Linked DNA regions of Homo sapiens: regions 2 and 3 are each linked to region 1. Evidence: promoter capture Hi-C in human tissues and cell types (Jung and others, 2019). All regions are on one chromosome and are shown on one strand. Each heading gives the region's core, a stretch centred on a gene start or on the middle of the fragment in contact. The rest is flanking DNA. Distances are from core to core; before and after follow the strand shown.

Evidence for each region. Contacts are between HindIII fragments. The study calls those that stand out against the background at their distance.
Region 2: a contact is called between a fragment that was not itself captured here and the fragment with the promoter of KCNF1 in region 1, in 2 of the 25 tissues and cell types used here (IMR-90 fibroblasts and pancreas).
Region 3: a contact is called between a fragment that was not itself captured here and the fragment with the promoter of KCNF1 in region 1, in 4 of the 25 tissues and cell types used here (IMR-90 fibroblasts, mesendoderm cells, neural progenitor cells and 1 more).

What each region holds. Positions count from the first base shown.
Region 1 is chr2:10,910,256-10,914,119 of GRCh38, forward strand. It overlaps KCNF1 (potassium voltage-gated channel modifier subfamily F member 1), which reads left to right and starts at 1,679. Exons shown (of 1, transcript NM_002236.5): 1 at 1,679-3,864. The coding sequence starts at 2,172. The coding sequence ends at 3,656. The HindIII fragment of the contact is 13,350 bases long and covers 1-3,864 here.
Region 2 is chr2:11,100,626-11,104,489 of GRCh38, forward strand. All of the region lies in intron 8 of FLJ33534 (Putative uncharacterized protein FLJ33534), which reads right to left. It also overlaps the pseudogene RPL6P4. Among named protein-coding and RNA genes, the nearest start is that of FLJ33534, 30 kb to the right of the region's middle. RefSeq lists enhancers at 3,084-3,163, 3,174-3,343, 3,364-3,513. The HindIII fragment of the contact is 9,721 bases long and covers 1-3,864 here.
Region 3 is chr2:11,044,167-11,048,030 of GRCh38, forward strand. No RefSeq gene overlaps it. Among named protein-coding and RNA genes, the nearest start is that of FLJ33534, 86 kb to the right of the region's middle. The HindIII fragment of the contact is 4,621 bases long and covers 1-3,864 here.

The DNA of each region.
Region 1 (3,864 bases), core at 429-2,928:
AATAGGCCTCAGAACCCAGCAGGACAATGGTTAAATCCCAGCTCCACAGAGTGATCTCGGCAGGTTACCTGACATCTTGTTTCCTTAGGGGTTGCTGGGAAATTAAATGACAAAAATGCAAAGCACTCAGAGACTGCACTCCGATGCCCATGGAGAATAAGTGGCAACTCTTATTATTACTCAACCTTTCTGAGCCTCGATTTCCTACTCTGTAGTAGCATGTCATTGTCTGATGCTAAATGGAAATGAAGTAAAATTTGTAAAACGAAGTTTCACTAAATAATACTTCATGTGATGTATTCTAATATATTCTGTTTTATGCTAACTCATTAAAGAAAAAAGAATACTGTCAGTGACCCAGTAAATTGATTTCATAATCCATTAACGGACATGTCCTTAAGTTTTAAAAAACCCAGCCTACAGAATACATTTTTAAATAGACTTTATATTTTAGAGCACAATTCAACAGAAAGTACAGAGAATTCCCACATGCCCCCTGTCTCCACAGCTCTCCCCTGCGCATCAACATCTCACACAGGGTGGGACACTTGTCATGGTGGACCACCCCACATGGACACGTCATCATCGCCCAGCACCGAGTTTGCATTAACATTCGCTCCTGGTGGTGAACATTCTATGGATTTTGACCATTGCATAACGACACATATCCGCCATTATGGTACGTTTCACTGCCCTAAAAATCCTCTGCTCTGCCTATTCATTCTTCCCTCCAGAATATTTTTAACACGATCTCGAGGCCATAGATGATATCAGTAATTTGCAGTATTGATGATAGTGGTGAACCGGAGGAGAGAGACACTGTTAGGAAGCTGCTGTAGTGGTTCAGGTGAGTGAGGACAGAAGGACAGCTGTGGCTGCAAAGGCTGGAAGAGAGGAGGGTGTGGGACACTGGTCAGGAAGAGACAGGCCTTGGTCAAGGAGTGAGGAACGGGGAAGCAGGAGCCACTGGACCCTAGGGGTCTGGAAGCTAGTGGCCTTGGTGTGGGACTGCAGAGAGATAGGAGGTGCCAGACGGCAGGGACTTCAAGGCAGAATTGAAATCTGCTGAACAGCAGGCGTCGGTCAGCTGGGACAGCCGGAAAGCTCGGGATCAGGAGGCGGTCAAGCTGAGCTCTGCTCTCATTCCGCCGCGTGACCTTGGGCAAGTCCCTTCCCTTCTACAGGAGGCTGGACTAGATGTCCTCCTTGTACAGCGTTGCGGGGAAGGTGAGACAGTGCCACCAACACAGCAGGGCATTGCTGGGTCGGGGGGATGGGGCAGGAAACGCTTCAAGGATCAGGCAGGATTTTCCTCCCACCAGGAAAAGCCGGCGCGGGTCTAAGGCCGGAGGAGGGACCCAGACATAGGAGTCACCTTCTAAGGGGCTTCCTGGAGCACATTTTCCTGCCCAGCAACAGGCGGCAGCATTCTCTCCCCACTAATCCTCTCCAAACAGCAGTGAGAGAGAATGCCTGCCGCTTCAAGCCAGGTCGCAACCCCTCGGTGACCCGCTGCGCCCGAGGAGGGGCCGGCGGTGCGCGGTGGTGGCGGCGGGCGCGGCAGCTGTGCCCGTCTGCCCAAGGGTTAATCCGTCCCCTGCAGCTGCCGCGCGTGCCTTGCAGAATTTCACCAGAAGAGGGTACAGTTTGAAAAGCTCCTGACGTCAGGCTGGAATTCCTATTGTGTTTAGAAAAGGCTCGGGCAAAGCCAGCCCAAGTTCGCTCTCTGCACACCTCGAGCACCTCGCGGACGGCGTGGGTCCGCCAGCTCCGGGACCTGCCGCCGCTGCCTGCGCGCCCCGGGGCGGAGGACGGTGCCAGCCGCCCACGAGGAGACCCCGCTCCCGCAGGAGGCCGAGCTGAAGCGGCGGAGCGCGCCGCCAGCCAGCCGGGGTGAGTGCCCCGGGCGAGGCCGGCGGCCGCCAAAGCCCCCGCGGGCTCGCCCGGGCGCCCGGATGCCAGCCCCGAGCCCCGCCGCCGGGTGCATGCCTCCCCCGCGGCGCGCCCCCGCAGGCTGCTGCCCGCTGTGACCGCCCTTCCCCGCAGGCGGGCGCCGGCCAGGCTCTCCCCGAGATCAGCGCACGGGTGGCACCCGCCGGACCCCCAGCGGCAGCGGCGGCGGCGGCTGCAGGGGGCGCGGGGCGGAGGCTGCGAGGGCGCGCGCGGGGAGGATGGACGGGTCCGGGGAGCGCAGCCTCCCGGAGCCGGGCAGCCAGAGCTCCGCTGCCAGCGACGACATAGAGATAGTCGTCAACGTGGGGGGCGTGCGGCAGGTGCTGTACGGGGACCTCCTCAGTCAGTACCCTGAGACCCGGCTGGCGGAGCTCATCAACTGCTTGGCTGGGGGCTACGACACCATCTTCTCCCTGTGCGACGACTACGACCCCGGCAAGCGCGAGTTCTACTTTGACAGGGACCCGGACGCCTTCAAGTGTGTCATCGAGGTGTACTATTTCGGGGAGGTCCACATGAAGAAGGGCATCTGCCCCATCTGCTTCAAGAACGAGATGGACTTCTGGAAGGTGGACCTCAAGTTCCTGGACGACTGTTGCAAGAGCCACCTGAGCGAGAAGCGCGAGGAGCTGGAGGAGATCGCGCGCCGCGTGCAGCTCATCCTGGACGACCTGGGCGTGGACGCAGCCGAGGGCCGCTGGCGCCGCTGCCAGAAGTGCGTCTGGAAGTTCCTGGAGAAGCCCGAGTCGTCGTGCCCGGCGCGGGTGGTGGCCGTGCTCTCCTTCCTGCTCATCCTCGTCTCGTCCGTGGTCATGTGCATGGGCACCATCCCCGAGCTGCAGGTGCTGGACGCCGAGGGCAACCGCGTGGAGCACCCGACGCTGGAGAACGTGGAGACGGCGTGCATTGGCTGGTTCACCCTGGAGTACCTGCTGCGCCTCTTCTCGTCACCCAACAAGCTGCACTTCGCGCTGTCCTTCATGAACATTGTGGACGTGCTGGCCATCCTCCCCTTCTACGTGAGCCTCACGCTCACGCACCTGGGTGCCCGCATGATGGAGCTGACCAACGTGCAGCAGGCCGTGCAGGCGCTGCGGATCATGCGCATCGCGCGCATCTTCAAGCTGGCCCGCCACTCCTCGGGCCTGCAGACCCTCACCTATGCCCTCAAGCGCAGCTTCAAGGAACTGGGGCTGCTGCTCATGTACCTGGCAGTGGGTATCTTCGTCTTCTCTGCCCTGGGCTACACCATGGAGCAGAGCCATCCAGAGACCCTGTTTAAGAGCATCCCCCAGTCCTTCTGGTGGGCCATCATCACCATGACCACCGTCGGCTACGGCGACATCTACCCCAAGACCACGCTGGGCAAGCTCAACGCGGCCATCAGCTTCTTGTGTGGTGTCATCGCCATCGCCCTGCCCATCCACCCCATCATCAACAACTTTGTCAGGTACTACAACAAGCAGCGCGTCCTGGAGACCGCGGCCAAGCACGAGCTGGAGCTGATGGAACTCAACTCCAGCAGCGGGGGCGAGGGCAAGACCGGGGGCTCCCGCAGTGACCTGGACAACCTCCCTCCAGAGCCTGCGGGGAAGGAGGCGCCGAGCTGCAGCAGCCGGCTGAAGCTCTCCCACAGCGACACCTTCATCCCCCTCCTGACCGAGGAGAAGCACCACAGGACCCGGCTCCAGAGTTGCAAGTGACAGGAGGGCCCCTCAGGCAGAGATGGACCAGGCGGTGGACAGATGGGTAGATGTGGCAGGCATGTCATCGACAGCACAGAAGGGCTGTCCTGTGTCCCCCCAACCCTCCCCTGGACAGACTCTGAAGGCCCTCCCGGCACCTCTGCCAAGGCTGGGTAAGACTCCTCTATGTTGCCTGCTGTCCAGGAGCCCGGGAGGGAGGGGTGTG
Region 2 (3,864 bases), core at 979-3,478, 190 kb after region 1:
TCTAGTGTATTGCAGTCATCTAAATAACAGCAGCAGGTGAAATCAGTATCATTCGGGGACTCACAGGAAAGTCTGGAGCAGTGTTTCTCAAAGAGTGTTTCCCACATCTCCGATGAGGTCCAGAGAGGCCTTACTGGGCTGTCTGGAGTTTTCTAGGAGAATGTGTAAGTCTGTGTTTTCATTTGGTGCCAGCCTGTGCTGGGGGTACAGTAACAGAAAGGACAGCAGGGCCCTGTCCTCAGGAAGCTTCCAGTCTAGGGGATGTGGAGGTCATGGGAGCAGGATCTGAAATCGTCACACTGGGTGTTAATGGTTCCCTAAACCTGATCCCTGACTGTCATCTGGGCCTCAAGGCAGGGTTGGGGAAGATCCTGCTCCTGAAAGGAGAAAGATGTGGAGTGGAGAATATCTCAGCCACCTGGGGGAAACAGGACTTCGGAGCCTTCCCGCCAGGTGGTGCTGAGGAAGTGTGGGGTAGAGGCAGGTGGCACAGGCAGCAACCTTTGGTGTCCCCTCTCCCCCTGAGCCCACGCTCTCCAAGCCAGGAGGGTCATAAAGCAGCATGGGGAGAGGTCAAAGCAGGGCCCTGCCTCGACCTGATTCCCATGGGGACTCCAAGAACACCCGGCCTGCGGGCCCCACCCCAGTGGCTCTGGGACTCCCAACTTCCACCCAGGCCAGGGCAGCTGGGTAAATACAGAGACTCAAAAAGAGCCCAAGGTGACACTCAGGGTCTGCCCAGCTCCATGTGTTATGGCAGGAACCCCTAGGTACCTATTAGCTGAGGCATGGGGACCTGTCAGAGAAAGTCATTTTCATGGGGGTAAAGGGACTCTGAAGCCAAGGGCGCAATCAGTCAATGGGACTGTTTGAGCCAAGAATCAAATGGAAGTTCCAACCAGACGTCAGGGCACCTCCAGAGCAGCCAGGACATCATCAGCCAGGGTGGAGGGCTGAGCTCCCCAGACCACAGATGATAGCAGCCACAGGCTTCTGCAACAGCCCACCAGGCTGCCCAGGGGCAGGACAAGACAGACCCACCACCTAAGCCTCCAGCAGCCAGGGCCCACCCAAGGGCAGAACAGCCACCTGCCTAGAGACCAGGTGCTCTCCTTCCCCCACCACATGTACCACCCCCACTCAGAGAGGATCAGGGGCTGAGGGGAAGAAGGGAGGTCTGCAGTGCTGACCACGTGTCCGTCAAGAGACTGTGGCATCCCCAAGAGACAATGCTAGCCAGTAGAAACAAAGGGGCTGCATTCTCTTTGCACCTTGGGTGCAGTGTGCTCATGTGGGCTTTAAGAATTCATGTAATTAGCACCACAGGCTAATGATAACCCCTCCCTAGATTAAAAGACAGTCCCATCATCTCCAGCATCTGGCCCCTTGGAGAAGAGTTTGCAGAAGGAAGAAAAGAAGACCAGAGAACATTCTCTATAAGGCCCTTTGCAGAGAAGAAAGCTCAGCTCCTGCCTTGGAAGCAAAGCTGTAGGAAAGCTCTTTCCCATCTTGCAAGATGGCAGGTGAAAAAGTTGAGAAGCCGGATACTAAAGAGAAGAAACCTGAAGCAAAGAAGGCTGATGCTGGTGGCAAGGTGAAAAGGCATCACCTCAAGACTGAAAAACTCAAGAAGGGGAAGCCCCATTGCAGCCTCAATCCCGTCCTTGTCAGAGGAGTTGGCAGGTATTCCCAACCTGCCATGTATTCCAGAAAGGCCACGTGGAAGAGGAAGTACTTAGCTGCGAAGTCCAAGGTTGAAAAGAAAAAGGAGAAGGTTCTTGCAACTGTTACAAACCAGTTGGTGGTGACAAGAACGGTGGTCCTGGGTGGTTAACAAAATGCCTAGATATTACCCTACCGGAGATGCGCCTCGAAAGCTGTTGAGCCACGGCAAAAAAACTTTCAGTCAGCACGTGAGAAAACTGTGAGCCAGCATTACCCCCGAAGCCATTCTAATCATCTTCACTGGATGCCACAGAGGCAAGAGGGTGGTTTTCTTGAAGCAGCTGGCTAGCGGCTTGGTATTTAGGACTGGACCTCTGGTCCTCAATCGAGTTCCTCTATGAAGAACACACCAGACATTTGTCATTGCCACCTCAACCAAAACTGACATCAGCAATGTAAAAATCCCAAAACATCTCACTGATGCTTGCTTCAAGAAGCAGCAGCTGCGGAAGCCCAGACACCAGGAAGGTGAGATCTTCGACACAGAAAAAGAGAAATACGAGATCACAGGGCAGCGCAAGATTGATCAGAAAGCTGTGGACTCACAGATTTTACCAAAAATCAAAGTTATTCCTTAGCTCCAGGGCTACCTGAGATCTGTGTTTGTTCTGAGGAATGGAATTTATCCTCACAAATTGGTGTTCTAAATTTCTTAAGAACCTAATTAAATAACTGATAACATTTAAAAAATAATAAAGCTGTGGGGACAGAGGCCTGGGCCGTGTCTGTGAACAGCATGCCGGAGTGGACATGGGCCAGGAGGAGGCACAGTGAGCCGTGGGGACACCCCGTGCTGTTCACAGGGCTGGGCACCCAGAGCACGGAGCAGAGCGGCTTTCTTCTTCCCCAGGCTGCTGAGCCTATGCTGAGTGTGTGTGGAGGGCGCAGAGGGCCGTTTGTTGGGGCTGGGAGCTAGCCCACTCTGCCGTCTCAGAGCAGATACAGCCATCAATTACCCCAGCATGTGCAAGAAGGATGCCATTGTCCACACGCTGGGGCTGGGTTTGGAGCGCACTTGGAGACGGAGATCTGGGTGCAAGTGGATTATGGGGGTGCCCTGGAGACCAGCCCCCGCCAGGGGTGAGGGCAGTGGGAATGAGCAGTAAAGGCCTCAGCCAGGCTCACAGGCAGCTCTGAGTCTGCGCGGCTGCACAGCAGCCTGAATCAGGCAGGTGGCCCTGACGTTACCTGGCATAGCAATCAGCCACTAAAGCAGGTGGCACGGGAGGAGCATGAGCTTACGCCAGGCAGCCCCCTCCAGGTGAGTCCTGGGAGGCGATGCCTGTGCCTCTGTCTTGGAGGGGGAGTTTGGGGCGCCCCCCCACCACAGCATTCACACGCACCATGCTGGGCTTCCCGGCCAGGCCCCAGGCTTGCCCGCAGAGGTGAGCCCGGCTGGGGTGGGGCCTTACACCTGGTGCCTGTGTCAGCCTCCCCTGGATGGGATTTGGAGTTTCAGTGGATACCAACACCCATGGAGGGCCCACGATGACCTGCTTTCCAATTAAGTGAACACCTCAAAGTCCCTTCCGGCGTAAACAATCTCTGATTCCTTGATTTAATCCTCCACAGTTAAAGGAACCTCTGCACTAATGGGCTTGAGTGACGTCTTTTTGCACAGTAATACGTGGTCGTATAACCCCCACAACGTGTCTCTAAATCCATGTAACAGTCACTGCTCTCAATAGTGATCACAGTTGTGCAGAATTGAGATCTGAATGCTGGTTGTGGTTGTGCAGAGCTGACATCTGAATGCTGGTTGTGGTTGTGCAGAGCTGACATCTGAACGCTGGTTTTGGTTGTGCAGACCTGAGATCTGAATGCTGGTTTCGGCTGTGCAGAGATGAGATCTGAATGCTGGTTTCGGCTGTGCAGAGATGATATCTGAATGCTGGTTTCGGCTGTGCAGACCTGAGACCTGAATGCTGGTTTCGGCTGTGCAGAGATGAGATCTGAATGCTAGTTTCAGCTGTGCAGAGATGAGATCTGAATGCTGGTTTCGGCTGTGCAGACCTGAGATCTGAATGCTGGTTTCGGCTGTGCAGAGCTGAGATCTGAATGCTGATTTCAGCTGTGCAGACCTGAGATCTGAATGCTGGTTTCTACAGTGGATTTGTCACATTCACACGTAGCGGGGCT
Region 3 (3,864 bases), core at 802-3,301, 130 kb after region 1:
TTACTGTCTGTAGCATTTTATGTCTTAAACATCTCAAAATCTTCCCTTTGCCACACTTAAACTTCTGAATGAGGACTCCACAGACAGAATGTAACAGGCAACTGATGCCTCTTTGGTGGGCGTTCCCAGGATCGCTCTTGATATGGTTCAGATCTCTGTCCCCACTGAATCTCATGTCGAATTGTAATCCCCAGTGTCTGAGGTGGGCCTGGTGAGAGGAGATTGGATCATGGGGGCAGAGTTCTCATGAATGGTTTAGCGCCATCTCCTCAGTGCTGTTCGCGTGATTGTGAATGAGACCTGGTTGTTTAAAAGTATGTGATACCTCCTCCCCACTCTGTCTTCCTCCTGCTCCAGCTGTGTGAGATGTTCCTGTTTCCCCTTAGCTTTCCACCATGACTGTAAGTTTCCTGAGGCCTCCCCCAGAAGCAGAAGCCACTATGCTTCCTGCACAGTCTGCAGGACCATGAATTCTACCTCTTTTCTTAATAAGTTACCCAATTGCAGTATTTCTTTATAGCAATGTGAGAATGGAATAATATACCTCTCTTGATGGGCATTTTCAGGATTCCTCTCTAGGTGGGCGTTCCCAGCATTAAATTGGCAAAAAAGCGAATTCTCCGTTCTTGTATTTCCAGGAGCCTTCTCTCTGACTCCAGATCCTACCGTGACACTGACACATATATGTGCCAGTGTGCCACCTCCTTCCAGTGCCTGTTCTCTTCTCCCACTGAGAGTGAACAGCAACTTCTCAGTTGAAAGGGTCTTTTCCAGGCCAACCTAACCCCTGGCATCCCACAAAGATGATCTAGGGCAGCAGTCCCCACCATTTTTGGCACCAGGAACTGGTTTCGTGGAAGACAATTTTTCCATGGACCGGGGATGGGGAGTGGCTTCAGGATGAATCAAACACATTACATGTATTGTGCACTTTATTTCTAGTATTATTACCTAATAATATATAATGAAGTAATTACAGAACTCACCATAAGGTAGAATCAGAGGGATCCCTGTGTTTGTTTTCCTGCAACTAGACAGTCCCATCTGGGGGTGACAGAAAACAGTGACAGATCATCAGGCATTAGATTCTCATTAGGATCTCACAGTCTAGATCCCTCATATGGGCAGTTCACAATAGTGTTCACACTCCTATGAGAATCTAATGCCACCGCTGATTTGACAGGAGGTGAAGCTCAGGCAATGATTTGAGCAATGGGGAGCAGCTATAAATACAAATGAAGCCTCACTCCCTCACCCGTCACTCACCTCCTGCTGTGTGGCCCAGTTCCTAACAGGCCACAGACCAGGACCGTTCTGTGGCTCAGGGGTTGGGAGCCTCTGATCTAGAAGACAGCAATGGTCAGCGTCTTCCAGGAGCATCTGTAGCCGAGGCCTACAAGAAGCTCACAGTCCAGCATCACAAATGGGTCAAGTGAACAACCACAATCGCCTTGCAGCCAACAGTAGGCCAAGTTACAGATAAGTCTTATCAAATAGACATTATCTTCTGCACTTTATAGGCGAGGAAACTGAGGAACACGATGTTTAAGTAACTTGAGCAAGTGGTAGAAGCAGTACTCAAACATAATGATTGCAGTTCTACGAAAAGCTCAGATGAAAAAGCTAATCCCAAAAGGTCACACACTGTCTGACTCCATTATATAACATCCTTGAAACAACAAAACTATAGAATGAAAAACATATTGGTGATCACCACGGGTTAGGGAAGGGAGGCTGGGGGGAGGCGGCCATGGTTGTAAAAGGGCAACAGGAGGGATCCTTGCGGAGATGTAACTGTTCTGTGCTTGATTGTTGTGGGGGAGATGTGAACCTACCCATGTCCTTAAGGCTGCACAGAACTACATAAACACACACACTAATGGGTGCAAGGAAAAATGAGGAATCGGAATAAGCTGGGTGTATGGGTGTATTGTACCAATGTCAATATCCTGGTTGGGATACTGTGCCATAGTTCTGTAAGATGTCATTATCAGTGGGAAATGGATAAAAGGAACATTGGAGCTCTCTGTGTTATTTCTTGGAATGGCTTGTAAGCCTACAATTATCTCAAAACAAAGCTTTTAACTAAAAGATACAGTATTCATAAAATATGTGTGTGATAAAACTTATCAAATTTAGCATTTATCTAAAGAGACATTGAATATGCTGTGATATGCAGAATTTGTTAGTGTTGTTTCAACTTATTTGGTAACTTTTTTTGGACACGGTGTCTGGCTGTCACCCAGGCTGGAGTGCAGTGGCAGGCTCAAGGCTCACTGCAGCCTCAGACCTCCTGGGCTCAAGTGATCCTCCCACCTCAGCCTCCTCAGTAGCTGGGAATACAGGCATGCACGACCACATCCAGCTAATTTTTGCATTTTTTGTAGAGACAGGGTGCCACCATGTTGCCCAGGCTGGTCTCAAACTCCTGGGCTCAAGCAATCCTCTGGCCTCGGCCTCCCAAAATGCTGGGATTACAGTTGTGAGTCACTGTGCCTGGCCAACAACTTTTATAAGTTGTATTTTAAGGTTTTGTACATTCTGTGAACTTAAAGTAAAAAGTGAAAATGATTATAAAGTTAAATCAATTTTAGCCTTGAAAACAAAGTGCTCAGAAACTCTGAGGGAGAATTCCCTTCTTGCTGGCAGATTAAGACAGGCAATATGATGGGAGTGATGTTTGCACTTGGTCTGGAAGCATGAGCTCTGTTTTGACAGATAAGGTGGAAAAGAGGAGTGTTCCATATTGAAAGAAAAGTGGACGCAAAGCTCAGAGTCAGCTGAGCACAGGACAAATCCAATTTGTGCTTTCAGTAGCTATTCTAGTCCTATTCAGACTGGTGTCACGGTACTGATCCAAACTTAATCTTAAATTGTGCTCTTTTTTAAAGATTTTTTTTATGTTTTTAAAAAGTTTTTTGAGTTTTAGGGTAAAACTACATTCAGTTTTTTTATTTGGTTTCTCTTTAGTTTAAAAATTTGCTTTAAGGCCAAGAGTGGTGGCTCATGCCTGTAATCCTAGCACTTTGAGAGGCCGAGGTAGACGGATCACTTGAGGTCAAGAGTTTGAAACCAGCCTGGCCAGGATGGTGAAACCCTGTCTCTACTAAAAATACAGAAAAAAAAAATATATATATATATATATGTATGTGTATATATATATATACAGAAAAGATATATATGTATGTATATATATATACAGGAAATATATATGTGTGTTTGTATATATATATACAGAAAATATATATATGTATGTATATATATATATATACAGAAAATATATATATGTATATATATATATATATATATATAAGAGCTGGGTAGGGTGGCAGGTGCCTGTAATCCCAGCTACTCGGGAGGCAGAGGCAGGAGAATCACTTGAACCTGGGAGCTGTAGGTTGCAGTAAGCTGAGATCGTGCCACTGCACTCCAGCCTGGGTGACAGAGTGAGACTCTGTCTAAAAAAAAAAAATTATCTTTTTACTTTAATTATACATATTCGTATATATGTATGTATGCATATGTATATACACGTGTGCGTGTGTGTATATATATATCTTCACGCTGTTGTTCCCTCAATGCCCTGCTCTCAGCTAGGTGCTCAGGAAGTTTGCTTGTGGTGGTGGATAGAAATGGACTTGACAACTGGGAGGCCTGACTGCGTACAATCTACTATCCCACCATTCACTAACTAGATGACATTGAGCAAACATCTGAACACCAATTTCTCCCCTTGTAAAACTGGGGGTGATGATACCTACTTTGCAGGGCTGTTATAAACATCAAGCAGCATAGTATACACCCAAGTGCTTTGCAAATTGTAAAGTGCTAAAGAGATATGAATTGCTAATACGAATAAACTAA